Linked DNA regions of Homo sapiens: regions 1, 2, 4 and 5 are each linked to region 3. The links are contacts of gene promoters, found by promoter capture Hi-C in blood cells and fetal thymus (Javierre and others, 2016). All regions are on one chromosome and are shown on one strand. The core of a region is centred on a gene start or on the middle of the fragment in contact, and the rest is flanking DNA. Distances in the headings are between cores, read along the strand shown. Region 1 overlaps LOC105372666 (a long non-coding RNA gene). Region 2 overlaps LOC105372666 (a long non-coding RNA gene). Region 3 holds the start of PFDN4 (prefoldin subunit 4). Region 4 overlaps LOC105372666 (a long non-coding RNA gene). Region 5 overlaps LOC105372666 (a long non-coding RNA gene).

Region 1 (2,700 bases), core at 28-2,527, 1.9 Mb after region 3:
TTGTAACAATCAAAAATGTCTTTAAAGGTCCCCTGGGAGCAAAACTGTTCCTGGTTGAGGACCACAGGATTACACAGATTTCTCTTTCCCAACTATTCTGTTTGGTTTTCCCAGATATTCCATTGTTGACTTTACCCAGCCTCCAACGCAGGATCCCAGGAGCCATTTAATTTTTAAATCCTTGGTCAACCATTAATACATATATGTTGTATCTATAGCTGTACTCTATTAATAAATCCTTCCATTTCCTTTTGGAAGAGAGGAAATGATTTTCTGCAGGTTATCACAAAATATCGGCTTGCAGGACGTACCAGGAAGCCAAGGAGGCTCCTTTCTGGAGAGTTCGGCCACTCTCCCCAGCACCAGAGCGTGTGCTGCACTACCTAACCTTTGCAGCTGCACAACGATGATCCGTCATTTCAGAAAAATAGGGAAAGAGCCTCGAATCCTTACTGCCCTCTAGAGAAATTCCGGCAGAAGAGCTCAATCTGTCGCAGTCAGCAGAAAAACAACGCTGCCAGAGGCAACTGCGGCTGGCAGTTGTAAAGCAAACAATTTATTTGCTGAATTTTTTGAAAGACGAGTCTAGCAGACCCTTCCTTTACAATCTCACACCTGAACAAGAAGCCGATGTGGGCTGGCACGTTGACGCAATCATAATTTTGCCAATTCCAGGTCTACCGCCAACGCGATGATTTTATGCCCACTGATGAATCAAATTCTGATATTCTACAAAGTAACTGTAGATCATGTTTTAAATGCAAATTCTCAAGTTTATACAAATGTCTTCTCTAGCCTTTGTTTACTGGCCTACCAACGGTGATATAAACAAAGATTTCTTTTTCTTGCTCCTCAGAAAAAACAGGACTGAAAAAATATTCACTAATTCTTCATGTTTGTATTAGGTTTTGGTGGGTGAGGACTTTTGGACACATTTTGGAGTTTAGAGTGACTTTTTTTTAATCTTCTGGGGGTGGGGCATGGTGGCTCATGCCTGTATTCCCAGCACTTTGGGAGGCCAAGGCAGAAAGATCACTTGAGCTCAGGAGTTCAAGACCAGCCTGGGCAACGTAGTGAAACCTCATCTCTACAAAAAATGTAAAAATTAGCCAGGCGTGGTGGCCCATGTTTGTAGTCGTAGCTACTCAGGAGGCTGAGGCAGGAGGATCCCCCTTGAGCCCAGGAGGTTGCAGTGAGCTATGATTGTACTGCTACACTCCAGCCTGGCAACAGTATGAGATCCTATCTAAAAACAACAACAACAAAAAAAAATTTAACTAACTTTGGTTGCTGTTGTTTTGATAAAGACTTTCCTGTTACTTAATGGCCATCTATATTCCAAGGAGAGCTTCGTCACTGAGATTAAAGTGAGCTTTCCCTACCAAAGTCCTGAAAAAGTTGTGCCAGGTCTAACTCACGTTTCTAGCACAGCTGAACATCAAAAGAAGTAAGTTTGAAAAGTATATGCTTGAAGACATACACTAGATAGAAAATCTTGCAGGTTTAATCAGAACTTTCAAATCATTGTTTTCATTATGACAGGCAACAGCAAAAAATGCTGAATGTTTATGCCTAATGGGTTTGCCCTTTGCCAGACAAATCCTTTTAGCTATGGCAGGAAACATAATTTTTATGGGCTCTTGGAGAGAGTGCACACTGCCCTCTAATGGTGACATGTGCTCACAATTTTATGGGGTCCCTTGATCAGGTTTCAGGAGGCTCTAAGTAGAATGTTATTACCAAAGGTAGACCATAATCCTGTAGATTGATGGCAGCCAATGGTTATTTTTACTATTTCCATTTTTTCCACCCTCTTGACAAGGAAATAAGATATTTGGTCCTTTCCTTTGTTATCAATAGCTGTGAGAATAATTTTGCTAAGATGGAAATATGTCAGAGTAATACTTAGAATATTTGAACTCCATCAGGCACAAAATAATATGCACACACATACCACAGGTATAAACCCTCAATGAAATAATGGTTTACTGCAGAATAAAAGACATTTCTCTATGGATATGAACTATCAATAAATAAGCTACTAAGGTATCAGAAACTTTCAGATTCAAAATTAACAAAAATAAATAAATAAAATAACATGGGAGGGTGGGAGGATTTGGGGGTTTAAGGGATGCTTTAGCTAAAATCTATACAGATATTCTTTAAATGAATGAGACAGAAAATAGAATAAATTTTCCCCCAAGCCTTTTTGAAAGTCAAGATACAGATACTGGTTCATTTTGACCTCTTTCAAAATATATGAATTTATCATATTTAATTATTTTCATCTACCAAATGACAAATGCCTCCTAACTTTGCTAATTGCCCACAGCTAAGAAAGGGAAACAGGGGAGAATAAAAGCCAGCACATTCACTGTCACAGCAAAGCTCCTGGAACTGTATCCAAACAGGAGCTGTTGATCTGTGGAAATGTAAATGTCATTTCTAAATATAGCATTGGGAAGCCAGAGAATCAGCATTTCTATGGATGAAACACCTTTTTGGGAAGTAACACGTGCAAGCCAATGCTTCCCTATGACACATGAGAGAGACAGGAATCTTCCCGCCCAGCCCTGCATCTGCAGGGGCTTAGAAATGCCACGTGCGTGCACAGAACCCTGCTCATTCTCCCCGACTTCCTTAACCTGCTCCTGCACCAGACCGTGAATCAAAGCAAATCATCTCCTGTGCCTCTCCCTC
Region 2 (2,700 bases), core at 152-2,651, 1.9 Mb after region 3:
CCACCCCGGATAAAATTAGGTCAATATTGATCGAGAAAGCCAAACGACGTTCAGACACACTGCTATGTACACCCATTAAGCTGTGATGTAATTGACATTTCAAAATTAAGACCACGGGCATAGAGATGAGAACATGACTCACAGATATTTCATATACACTTGTTTATTGACTCTGTGTGTTATATATATACACACACAAACCATGCATTAGTCACTTGATAATTCAAGATTAGGTGCACATAAGCCAACAGTATCATTTCTATTTAAATAAAATGAGTGTGTGTATGCCAGTGTTTTGTAATAAAAGCTTACCTGAGTCAAATGTTTTACTATGTTATAGGCTTTGGACTAAGTATTCTATATATACAAAGTCTGTTTAAAATAAAAACTTATAGGCTGACATGTAAAGAAACTGATGAGAGGTAAAGCAAAGCACCCAAACAGCATAGCTGGAAGAGGCAGAGCTAGGACTCTAACACTTGGAAACAGTACAACAACATCTAACACTAGATACTGTTGGTGTTGGTGATATTACCAGCTAGTATATAGAATACACTACAAATACCCAATGAATATAATAGTAAAAAAATTTTAAAGTTAAGTGTTCAGGTACTGGAACTGGAATAATTCTAAAGAATAAAATTTAGTCCCATTTGCTACGATGAACATAACCTTTGAGATGAATACTAGCCCACCAGATCCAAGCCCAGATGATGTGCATCATCTTGTCCGAAAAAAAAAAAGTATCTCTAGTGTTTTAGAAACTGTGAATTGCTGAACACAGCTTATAAAAATACCACAGAAAGAAAATAGGTTCAATAAAAGGCTAAATTCTAATTAAAATAAATAGAAACACAACTAATAGCAGAAGGCAAGAGAAAAACATTGGGGAAAAATAAAAGCTGTGTGACTTAATCTTTTTATCATCACATGGAAACAAATAAACCATGATAAGTGAATTTTTCTTTTCCCTCCTCCTCTCTTTAGTTGATATTGCTCAAGAAAAAAAAATCTGTCCTTTTCCTAATTTGAAATAGTGTATCTGGGATAGTTCAAGAAAAATAACAAAACACTACTCTTGACAAAGCATAGATTTGCATTAATATTTTCTTCCAATATTTTCTTGACATTGAAACTCAAAGATGGATGATTTGGAGGTTCTTAAGGCTTTTGCTGGATGGAAACACTCAAAGCTCTCTCTGCTAAGGAAGAGAAGTCGGTAGCCCAGGGACATCCGCATGTCACTGTCAGGGCCATGCCCTGATCACCTGAGTGCTTGATGCTGGACTGCAACATCAGCAGCATCTGCATCTTTTTGCCTAAGGGATTTCTGTGGTCTCTGGAGACCAGTTTGCCATAGGCACGGTAGTCCAGAAGTACCAAGAATTAATGGTCCTCTAGGAGCTACCCTCAACAACTGACAATGTTGGTGTATAAATACCCCAACTCCCTCCCTCCCCAGAAAGAAAAACTCTGAGGCATTTTTCTCCACTGGCTTCCAGAGTTTTCCAGGAGACATTAAGCTCCAGTCTTCCATGGCGTTAGCTGTCTTGATGACTCAACTTTCCTTCCCTGGCTCACTTCCCCACCTTCTTCTGGGTATTTCCTGGTACAACCTCCCAAATAAACAACTTGTACTCAAATCTTTATCTCAAGTTCTGCTTCTGGGGAGAACCCTAAATAACAAAGAATCTATCCAAGTATTGAGGGGGAAGAAACTCTCAAGGACCTAGTTTTGTTCAGCTTCCTGATAGGGCAGGGGAGGTCAGAGAGGGAGGATGGGGTGATGCAAGGAGATTAGAAGGAGAAAATAAAGTTTATTTCTCACCCCATATCCTCTTTTCCAAACTCTCCCATGGGAATAGTTTCCACAAAAAGAAGCTGGATGAATAGTGATTCTGTAGTTTACATACACATAGGAGACTCCACAAGGAATTGCATTTCCTCCTGCAAAGTCCTCATTTAAGGCATTTATTCAATAAATATACATCTACAGAGAGGCAAAATAATTACATGGGCAGGGCTATGGCTTTTGGAACCAGACTGGTATGTTGCCACTGAGCTTGAGTCTCTGGCTCTCCTGATATTCTTTGAGCAAGCCAGTACTCTTGTAATAAATCATCCTTTTGTCTAAATTACCAGAGTTCATTTCTGTTGCTTACACCCAACAACCTTCACTGATAAGATGTCCCCTTCTGTTACTAGACTCTAGTACCTCATAGGGCAGTGTCTCTGCCTTAATCACCTGTATGACCAAGGACTGGATTTTAACCAAGGTCAGAGTACTAGAACTTTTGAGAATGTGTCTGTGCATGTGTGTGTGTACGTGTGTGTGTGAATATGCACATGTGTTAAGGGAGAGAGAAAACGGAGTATAGTTTGAAACAAACATTTCAAGTTTATTTCAAAGTTTCATAATACAACTTTGTATTTGTAGAATAAAAGGTAATGTTTCATCACACAAAATAGAGCAAAACAGCTCTGCAAAAGCTTCCTGGTTCTTGAGACTCCTGGGATGGTACAGGGCAAATGCAAGGCTGAGTAGAAGTTAAGAGTGCTGTATCTAGCATCAGATAGATGTGGGTTCAAATCTAAGCCCATTGTTTACTAGCCAGTGTATGCCAAGAAATGCACTCCTTGCGTTCTCGCCTTTCTCACTGGCAAAAGGCAAAACTCACTGTTCCCATCTGACAGGGTTAT
Region 3 (2,700 bases), core at 69-2,568:
GGGGGCAATGGGTCACCCTACACCAGGCACAGATGGCATAGACTATGTGGTACTGGATAGGGGCAAAGCAAAGAAGTTCTAATGTGGTCTTAAAAGTGGAATGAACGCAAATCCCTCCAGCCAAGAGATTCTCATCAAAGACCCCCTATAGCAGTTTAAAACACAGACTCCGGAGTCAGAATGCCTGTGTTTAAATGCTAGCTTTGCCTCCGCGCCTGTTTTCTCATTGTTAAATAAGGATAAAAACAGTATCTCCCTCAAAGAACATAAAATAAACAATACACGCAAAACAACTTACAGCTGTACCTAGCACACTGTAAAGCTCCCCAAATTATCAGCCGTTATCTCCTTCCCCCTCTCCAATTTTCTTTTTCTTCTATCTGACTATCTTTACACATCTGGGAAGGCTCACGGGATTAAAAACCCCACATGGAAGTTTAGCCGGCTTAGTGGTTACACAGGCGTGCTTTGAGAAAAACAAAAACAAACCTGAGTTTGAACTCCAGCTCTGCTTCTTACTAGCTGAGTCACTTTAGGGCCTCTAACTGCTCTGTGTCTAAGTTTCTCTACCTGCAAAGTGGAGAGGAACCCATTGCACTTGCTGAGTTGCGGGGAGGATAACAGATAAACGGCCGGCTGCTGGGCCCGGCACATCTTCCATTCTCAATAAATACTGGTTTTAGCCTGAAGGACTCAGGGGCATCAAGCGTGGAAATGGGCAGCTCCAGGTTGGACACAGGGTCTCTGGGGCCTGCTAATCTGGGGATGCAGGAACCTGCTGTCCCCGTTATGAGCTGCGTAACCTCGGGCAGGTGACTCCCCATCTCTGGGCCTCAGTTTCCTCACCCGTAACCACGCTCCCAGCAGCAGCTACCCATAACCAGTGAGGCTAATGCGATCATGCCGGTGCAACGCCCGAGTCAAGGCCAACCACACTCAACGGGACCTTCGGCTTCCCACACCTCAGGGGCGAGGCCGGGGCTGCAGGTTCCTCAGACTCCCCGGGGGCACCCTCGGCATCGCGGGAGGCGGACCTGCGTCCTTCGAGGCTCCCGGCCCCAGCCCCGGCGCCCCGCCTCGGCTGGCCAGGTGCCTAGGAAAACGCTCAGGGCGCCAGGCGCGAGCAGGCCTTGCCGCGGGACCGCTCTCAGGGCCTCGGCCTCGGCCTCGGGTCCCACGCCGGGCTTCGGAGCTGCGCACCCCCAGCATCCCGCGCCCGGGCCCCAGCGGCCGAGATCCGGCGCCGCCCGAGCATCCAGAGCCCCGAGCTCCCCACTCACCGCCTTCTTCATGGTGGCCGCCATCTTGGGACTGGACTACCGCAGGCGGCGGGGAGGGCCGCAATGGCGCGCTTCGCCCCCGAGCGTTCTCTCGCTCCCGGTCGGCCTAGAACTCCCCGCAAAAATACAACACTGTCTCCACATTCCGTCCTCTTGGACTTTTGGCCAGTGAGTCCAAACGGCTGGGACGTAGGGAGGAAATGTGACCTGGAAGGACTTGGTACATGCCAATTAAAGGGACAGGCAACCCCCGTGGACCGACATAAACACGGGGGTGTGGCGAACGGCTCCGGCCGCGGGCAGCAGGGGGCGCGCCCAAGGCTCAGCGCGGCGGGGCCCAGCTGGGGCAGGATCAAAGGGCTCGGGGAATTTTTCTCCATCCGTCCCACAGACTTGCATTGAGAAAGCTAACCTACCTGTAAAACAGCTAGGAACGAATGGCCTTGGCAAATAGGGTGTGAGATTTATGTGCCATGATAATTCAGGTGGTGTAAAGGAGGTACTCCTATCTTTTAATGTAATTTTTTTTTAATTTAAATTCGGGGGGTATGTGTGCCGGTTTATTACATGGATATACTGCATGGTGCTAAGGTTTGGGTTTCTAATGATCCCGTTGCCCAAGTAGTGAACATAGTACCCCACAGGTAATTTTTCAACCCCTTTCCCCTGCCTCCTTCCCCGTTTTTGGAATCCGTAGCATTTATTGTTCCCACCTTTATGTCCACGAGTACCCAGTGTTTAGCTGTCACTCATAAGTGGGAACATGAGTGGTTGGTTTTCTGTTTCTGTGTTAATTCACTTAGGATAATGATGTCCAGCTGCATCCATGTTGCTGCAAAGGACATGATTTTGTTCTTTTTTATGGCTGCATAGTATTCCATGGTGTATATGGACCACATTTTCTTTATCCTATCCACCACTGATGGGCATCTGGGTTGATTCCATGCCTTTGCTGTTGTGACTAGGCAATCCTATTAATTAATTTACAGCAATATTACTGAACAATTACTGTATATTCTGACACTTGTGTCTCCCAATTAGTAATTTTTTTTTTTTTTTTTGCCTTAGGACCTCTTTATACTCCTGGAAATTACTGAGGACTCCAAAGAACTTTTGTTTATGTGGGTTATTTATCGATATTTGCTGTATTAGAAATTAAAGCAGAATTTTTAAAATGTATTTATTAATTCATTTAAAATAATATAAAACTCCATTCCATGGTAATAAAAATCACACTTTAAAAATAACTATATTTTCTAAGACAAAAATAAATTGAGAAGATTGTCATCATTTTACATTTTCACTGATCTCTTTAATATCAGGCTTAATGGAAGGTTACATTCTCATGTCTACTTCTGCATTCAGTCTCTCCAAATACACTGTTTAGTTGCCTAGTTGTAGGTATGAAAAACCCCAGCCT
Region 4 (2,700 bases), core at 20-2,519, 2.0 Mb after region 3:
GGTATTACAGGTGAGCCACTGTGCCCAGCTGGAACTTTAAGTGTATTATAACGCCTAAACAATGTCCAGGAATCTTGAATTCTATCTTGTCACTCCTGACATGGGAATTACATGTATCGAGTACATATTGCATGCCAAGCACTGTGCCAAGGATGTTCCAAGGTCATTCTCTTACATGATTCTCACAACAGGTTTTTTTTTTTAGGTAGTTACTATCATTATCCCCATTCATTAATGAGGGAATAAAGCTCAGAGAGCTTCCGCCATTGGCTAAGATGCAATGGTATTTAAGCCATGCTCTGCCACTAATGGAAATGGAAAAGTAATGAAAGAAAATAAAGAAATGAAAGAAAATCAAGATTATCTTTGCCCTCTGAAGCAGAGGTCAATACTGTGGGAACAAATCCTGACTCTGTCCCTTACTCACTGTGTACTTTTGAGCAACTTCTTCAGCCTCTCTGAACAGTTTTCTATCTATAAAACAGGGATGGTGATACCGCCTTCCCACTCCAATCTGGCTAGTGAGAATCGCATATGAGACCATATGCTGTATCAGTTACAGTTCTTTGATGGCAAGCAACAGAAATTGGTTTAGCCAGCAAAAGGAAAAAAAGGGATTCACTAGAAGGGTATTTGGAGACTTCCACAATTTATGGGAAGGCTGTAAAGTCAAGTAGGAACAAGGATCAGGAATCAAGGAACTGACAGAGAATGTTCGTCAGGGTCTGTGTCCGGTTATTTTTTGCATGGTTATAAAGAAACACCTGAGGCTGGTTAATTTATAAAGAAAAGAGGTTGAATTGGCTCATGGTTCTGCAGGTTGTGCCGGCATGGCTCTGGCATCTGCTTCTGGTGAGGGTGTCAGGCACTGTAAAATCATGGCAGAAGGCAAAGTGGGAGCAGGCATATCATGTGGCAAGAGCAAGAGACAGAGACAGAGATGGCGGAAGTCCCAGAGTTTTAAACAACCAGATCTCACATGAGCTAACTGAGCAAGGACTCCGTGATCACCAGCAGGATGGCGCTAAACCACTCATGAGAAATCCACCCTCACGATCCAATACCTCCCACCAGGCCCCACCTCCAACAATGGGAATCATATTTCAACATGAAATTTGGAGGGGACAAACATGCACAACATATCAGGGTCCACTGCTCTTGGGCCATTTTTCCATCTCTGAGTCACTAGGCTCATGATTGGAAGTCCTGGGTGAAAGCTGACTTGCTCAATCAGACTCTCACTTGCTCACTTTGAAATGCACTGTAATATTAAGAAGAAGGTTCTGGAAGGGACTCCTTTGGCCTTATAGTGGAAAGACAGAACACTTTGACCATGCCCATGAGAAAAAGATAATTTCTGAACAAGAAATCAGGATACTGTTAGAATTGGGGTAGTGGGATTGGAATGCAGCATGCAGTGGGGGAGACAAATGTTGACTACACTATTAAAGGTCATGCAAACATAAAGTAGTGGTAATATGTTCATAAAAAGCAACTTTATGCAGTGTGCCTTATATTGTCTTTAGCAGAGTTCAAACAGTGAGAAACAGCATAGCAAGGGATTAAGGTGACAATCTGCAATTGAGCTGCCCGGGTTGAAATACCAGTCAGCTACTTACTAGCTGAGTTTCCTTAGCACACACTTAGCCTCTCTCAAGTCTCAGTTTTCACACCTGTGAAATAGCGAGGATGATGATAATAGCAGTTCATACCTCCCGGGGCACCATGAGGATTAAATGAGCTAAGTTACATGAAGGATTCAGAACACTGCAAGGCACATAGAAAGTACCAGTACCCTCCTTGGATGCGGGAAGTGGGAGTCCTGCTCTAGGCCCCAGGTGTAAGTGGCCTAAGTCCCCTCCCAGGGAGGGCAGGGTCTGCAGTAGTGACAGGTGGGATGCTCAAGGCCTACCTCATGGACCCCCCCTTGCCCCCAGGGTTTCCCCTCCAGGTTGCTCTCCAGCCCACTATCCCACATGTGTCCACTAGCTGCCCAGAGGAGCCCTGAATCTCACGCACGGGTCATCTGGGGAGATCCCAATTCCAGGAGACCAGCAGATAGCTCCCTGCCAGCTGGCACAGCATTTCTTTCATGTGATTGCACAAGATTGACAAGTAGAATGGGGCTAACACACCAATTTTGATGATTCTCACTCAAGCGCGGCACAAGACAACATCAGATTTCTGGACTACTATTAAACTAAACACTGTGGGCCCATGCCAGGCTCTCACCCACCCATGTGCCCCTCACCATGCTACCTCTGGTCTACAGCATCTTAGGATAGTGGGGGTGGCAACTGACATTCTATACATTGTGTCTCCTAATGCAGTCACCCGACAACCTCTACTAGCTTCATACCACACATTAGGCAATCCTCTTGGGTGCCCACACCTATCTCCTGAAGGGCTTTTTCAAGACCATTCATCCCCACACCAATGGGCCTTTCCAATTGGTGAGCTCACCTACCTCTGATTGACATGGTGATGTTGACCTGCATTCTCTCTTAAGCCTTGCATGAATGAGGACACTCTTCTTGGACACTCTTCTCATGCATTCCTAATTCCTCACTGGTAGTGGTATGTGGAAGGCAGAGGTGAGGTCAACATACTAAGAGTTCTTGCAGCTACCACCTAAAGATTCCAAAAGAAGATATACTCAGAAGATAGGCTTTCTACGTTTACACTCTAAAGTTCCAAACA
Region 5 (2,700 bases), core at 169-2,668, 2.0 Mb after region 3:
TAAAACGAACAGATTTCAACAGGAACGAGGAAGTGGGGCTTCTGTCTCAGAGGCTGGTCAGAGAAGCCTCTCTAAGGAAACTATATTTGAGCAAAGAAGCTCTGGCAAGAATGTTCTAGAGAGACGGAAGAGCAAGTGCAAAGGCCCTGAGGCAGCAATAGCATGCTGAGCATACTTGAGGACCATCAAGGAGGAAGTCACTGTGGCTGGGGCAGAAGGATGGCAGGGAAAGACAGTTGATGAGAAAGATGGAGACGTGACAGGAGCCAGATCAAGTCAGATCAAGTCATTTACTCAAGGATGATAAACCCTTGAAGGAAGCAGCATCATCTGGCACAGGCTTTGACACAATCCCTCTGGCTGCTGAGTGGAGTGGAGACTGTCCAGGGGAAGGAGGAGGAAGGAAAACCAGTGAGGAGGCAATTGTGATGTTTTAGCCAAGAAATGATGCTGCCTAGAACCAGGGTTATAATTGTGGGGGTTATATCCAGATTCTGGGTATATTTAGAAGGTGGAGCTGACCAAATTTACGGAAGGAATGGATGAGGAGTGTGAGGGAAACAGAAGATTCAATGATGATTCCAACACATTGTCCTGAGGAACTGGGTGCATACTGGTGCATGCAGGCTGCTGGGTGCCCGTAGCAGCCTCATCACTTTCCTCCCCATCTGTGTACTGAATGGAAAGGACACCAACACAGAGGAGGGCAGAGCCACAGGAGGAAGGGGCTGCTGGATCCCTGAGTGACTGTGTGGAACCGAGCTCCCTGGGGATCTGCATCGCAGCACAGCAGGAGCTGAGATGTGAGGTGGGCCTCACAGATGCACTTGTTGTGTGCATGGGCATGGACAGCATCCTACAGAGATCATGAAGCCTCAAAAATGTCCTCATCAGGGCCACGATGAGACCAACAGTGGGCCTCAGGAAGGGCCGAGGCAGAGAACCACAGGGAGGAGTGGGTTTCTGGTAGTCACAGTGACAACAGAAATCAAGATGTGGCCATTCCTGTGCTGTTGCTTTGCAGGACTCTGGGGCTGCCTCTCAGAAAGTTTGACCCCTCAGCCTTCTCCTGATTCAAAATTCCCAATATCCTTCCAGGACTTTCTCTTTGGCTTAACTTAACCAGAGTTAATTTCTGCCATTTGCAACCAAAGCCCCTTAATTAATAAAAATTGGTTAAACTGGCTTTTATGTGTGAGCACAGGATTCTAAATACCATTCTAAGTGTGGGGGAAAAACATGTATTCTGAGAATCAACTAGCAAATTCACAAATGAACTTTTGGACGCCACCCATTTCTCCGTTGGAGGCTGACGACTCCTTGCATGGCGTCGCTCCTCAGAGAGACAGCTTCTGCCAGTACAAGGTGGGGAAGTGTCAAATACGATTAAAACTTGATTGCTAATTCAAATGCTATTGTGCTTGATATGCTTGTCATGTAAAAGTGCACAATGTAGCTTAATAAAATTGATAGAACTCCCTTTGAAGATATTTTTGTCACAGAGGCACTCAATAAAACTGTTTCCATTAGGCTCTTCTGCCTCTTCCATATTTTGTTAGTGACACGTTTTCATGAAGTAGTCCAGGGCCCAGCAAGGCATGTTTCGCAAAGAATGTTTGGGGAAGAGGAGGAGTGTTTAGACTTTCCTTTTTATTTTGCTGTAATTAGTCAGACCTCTACCAGCTGCCTAATGATGCAGTTCACGCAGGTCACTAGGAGACCAAAGCAAAGCTGTTTTGCATCAGAGTCATGTGTGATCAAATAAATAACCAACAGAGGTTACTGTAACTAACTCAAAACTAGCTAATTATAAGTACGGAGTCCAAAAGTTAATCTGTTCAAGAAAATGTTTCTTTTCTTCCTGCCTAAGTCCAACAAGTGTTTACAGCACGGGATCCAGGAGAAGTACAGATTCACATTCACTAACAAGATGGTAGAGTTTGACTCCCTGTCTTTGGAAACAGCCAGCATGGAACAGAAGTGGGAATGTGATTTCTCAGTAGTCATACAGACGAGCCCTGGAATGATGCCGGCCTGAGTTCAAAGCTGGGTGATCCTGGGCAAATTACATACCCCTGGAGATCAAATCTCAAGTCTGTAAAACAGGGAAATACTACAACTACTACTACCTCAACTACTACTACTACTATTTAACAGTAGTACTGCTAATGAATCGCAATACTAATTTGATTGTAATTGACGGAAAATCCAATTCAAACTGATTTTGAAAAGAAAAAGGAGATTAATTGACTCAAATATTTGAAAGTATTGAAGAAAGAGCTGGCTGCTAGCACAGCCCGATTTGGGAGCTCCGAACTCTCACCACTACCTGAGATCTCTTAGCACAGCCCTCACCACATCAGCTTCACCCTCAGGCTGACCAGCTCCCTACCGTGGCCAGCTGCTCTTGGCTTCCCTGCTTTCTAATGAGAAATAGAACTCCTCTCCCCAGCCATCCAAACTTAGGCCCAAATTGTATCATGTCCCCATCCCTAAACTCTCCCCATTCAGTGGTGCTCTGATTGTCCATGCACGGTGGAGCCATGGATGACATCAGGGCTTCTCAAACCACAGGGATGGATTGCAAGGAAGAGAGAGTTCCCCAGAGGGAAATGATGTCTGTTACCTGGACAAGGGAGGATGCACACTGGGCAGAAAAAATGTCCACCACCAATACCTGCTTTATTAGAACTGTTGGAA

Evidence for each region. The method cuts DNA at HindIII sites, captures the fragments that hold promoters and counts their contacts. A CHiCAGO score of 5 or more calls a contact.
Region 1: a fragment that was not itself captured here is called in contact with the fragment with the promoter of PFDN4 in region 3 in 4 of 17 cell types (naive B cells, total B cells, total CD8 T cells and 1 more); the score reaches 14.3 in naive B cells.
Region 2: a fragment that was not itself captured here is called in contact with the fragment with the promoter of PFDN4 in region 3 in 1 of 17 cell types (total B cells); the score reaches 7.5 in total B cells.
Region 4: a fragment that was not itself captured here is called in contact with the fragment with the promoter of PFDN4 in region 3 in 9 of 17 cell types (total B cells, naive B cells, naive CD4 T cells and 6 more); the score reaches 18.9 in total B cells.
Region 5: a contact is called between a fragment that was not itself captured here and the fragment with the promoter of PFDN4 in region 3, in 2 of 17 cell types (naive B cells and naive CD4 T cells). The highest score is 7.2, in naive B cells.

The regions. Positions count from the first base shown.
Region 1 is chr20:52,311,298-52,313,997 of GRCh38, reverse strand. All of the region lies in intron 3 of LOC105372666 (a long non-coding RNA gene), which reads right to left. Among named protein-coding and RNA genes, the nearest start is that of ZFP64, 120 kb to the right of the region's middle. The HindIII fragment of the contact is 5,272 bases long and covers 1-2,700 here.
Region 2 is chr20:52,293,181-52,295,880 of GRCh38, reverse strand. The region is part of intron 2 of LOC105372666 (a long non-coding RNA gene); the gene reads right to left. Among named protein-coding and RNA genes, the nearest start is that of ZFP64, 100 kb to the right of the region's middle. The HindIII fragment of the contact is 2,183 bases long and covers 310-2,492 here.
Region 3 is chr20:54,206,705-54,209,404 of GRCh38, reverse strand. PFDN4 (prefoldin subunit 4) reads right to left here and starts at 1,318. Exons shown (of 4, transcript NM_002623.4): 1 at 1,281-1,318. The coding sequence starts at 1,304. It overlaps LOC124904937 (a long non-coding RNA gene), which reads left to right and starts at 1,364. Exons shown (of 2, transcript XR_007067669.1): 1 at 1,364-1,448; 2 at 2,349-2,459. RefSeq lists enhancers at 287-1,103, 1,244-1,563, 1,104-1,921 and a silencer at 984-1,253. The HindIII fragment of the contact is 8,273 bases long and covers 1-2,700 here.
Region 4 is chr20:52,234,700-52,237,399 of GRCh38, reverse strand. LOC105372666 (a long non-coding RNA gene) reads right to left here. Exons shown (of 17, transcript XR_007067652.1): 2 at 2,468-2,631. Among named protein-coding and RNA genes, the nearest start is that of ZFP64, 44 kb to the right of the region's middle. The HindIII fragment of the contact is 6,502 bases long and covers 1-2,700 here.
Region 5 is chr20:52,251,870-52,254,569 of GRCh38, reverse strand. All of the region lies in intron 2 of LOC105372666 (a long non-coding RNA gene), which reads right to left. Among named protein-coding and RNA genes, the nearest start is that of ZFP64, 61 kb to the right of the region's middle. The HindIII fragment of the contact is 3,750 bases long and covers 1-2,700 here.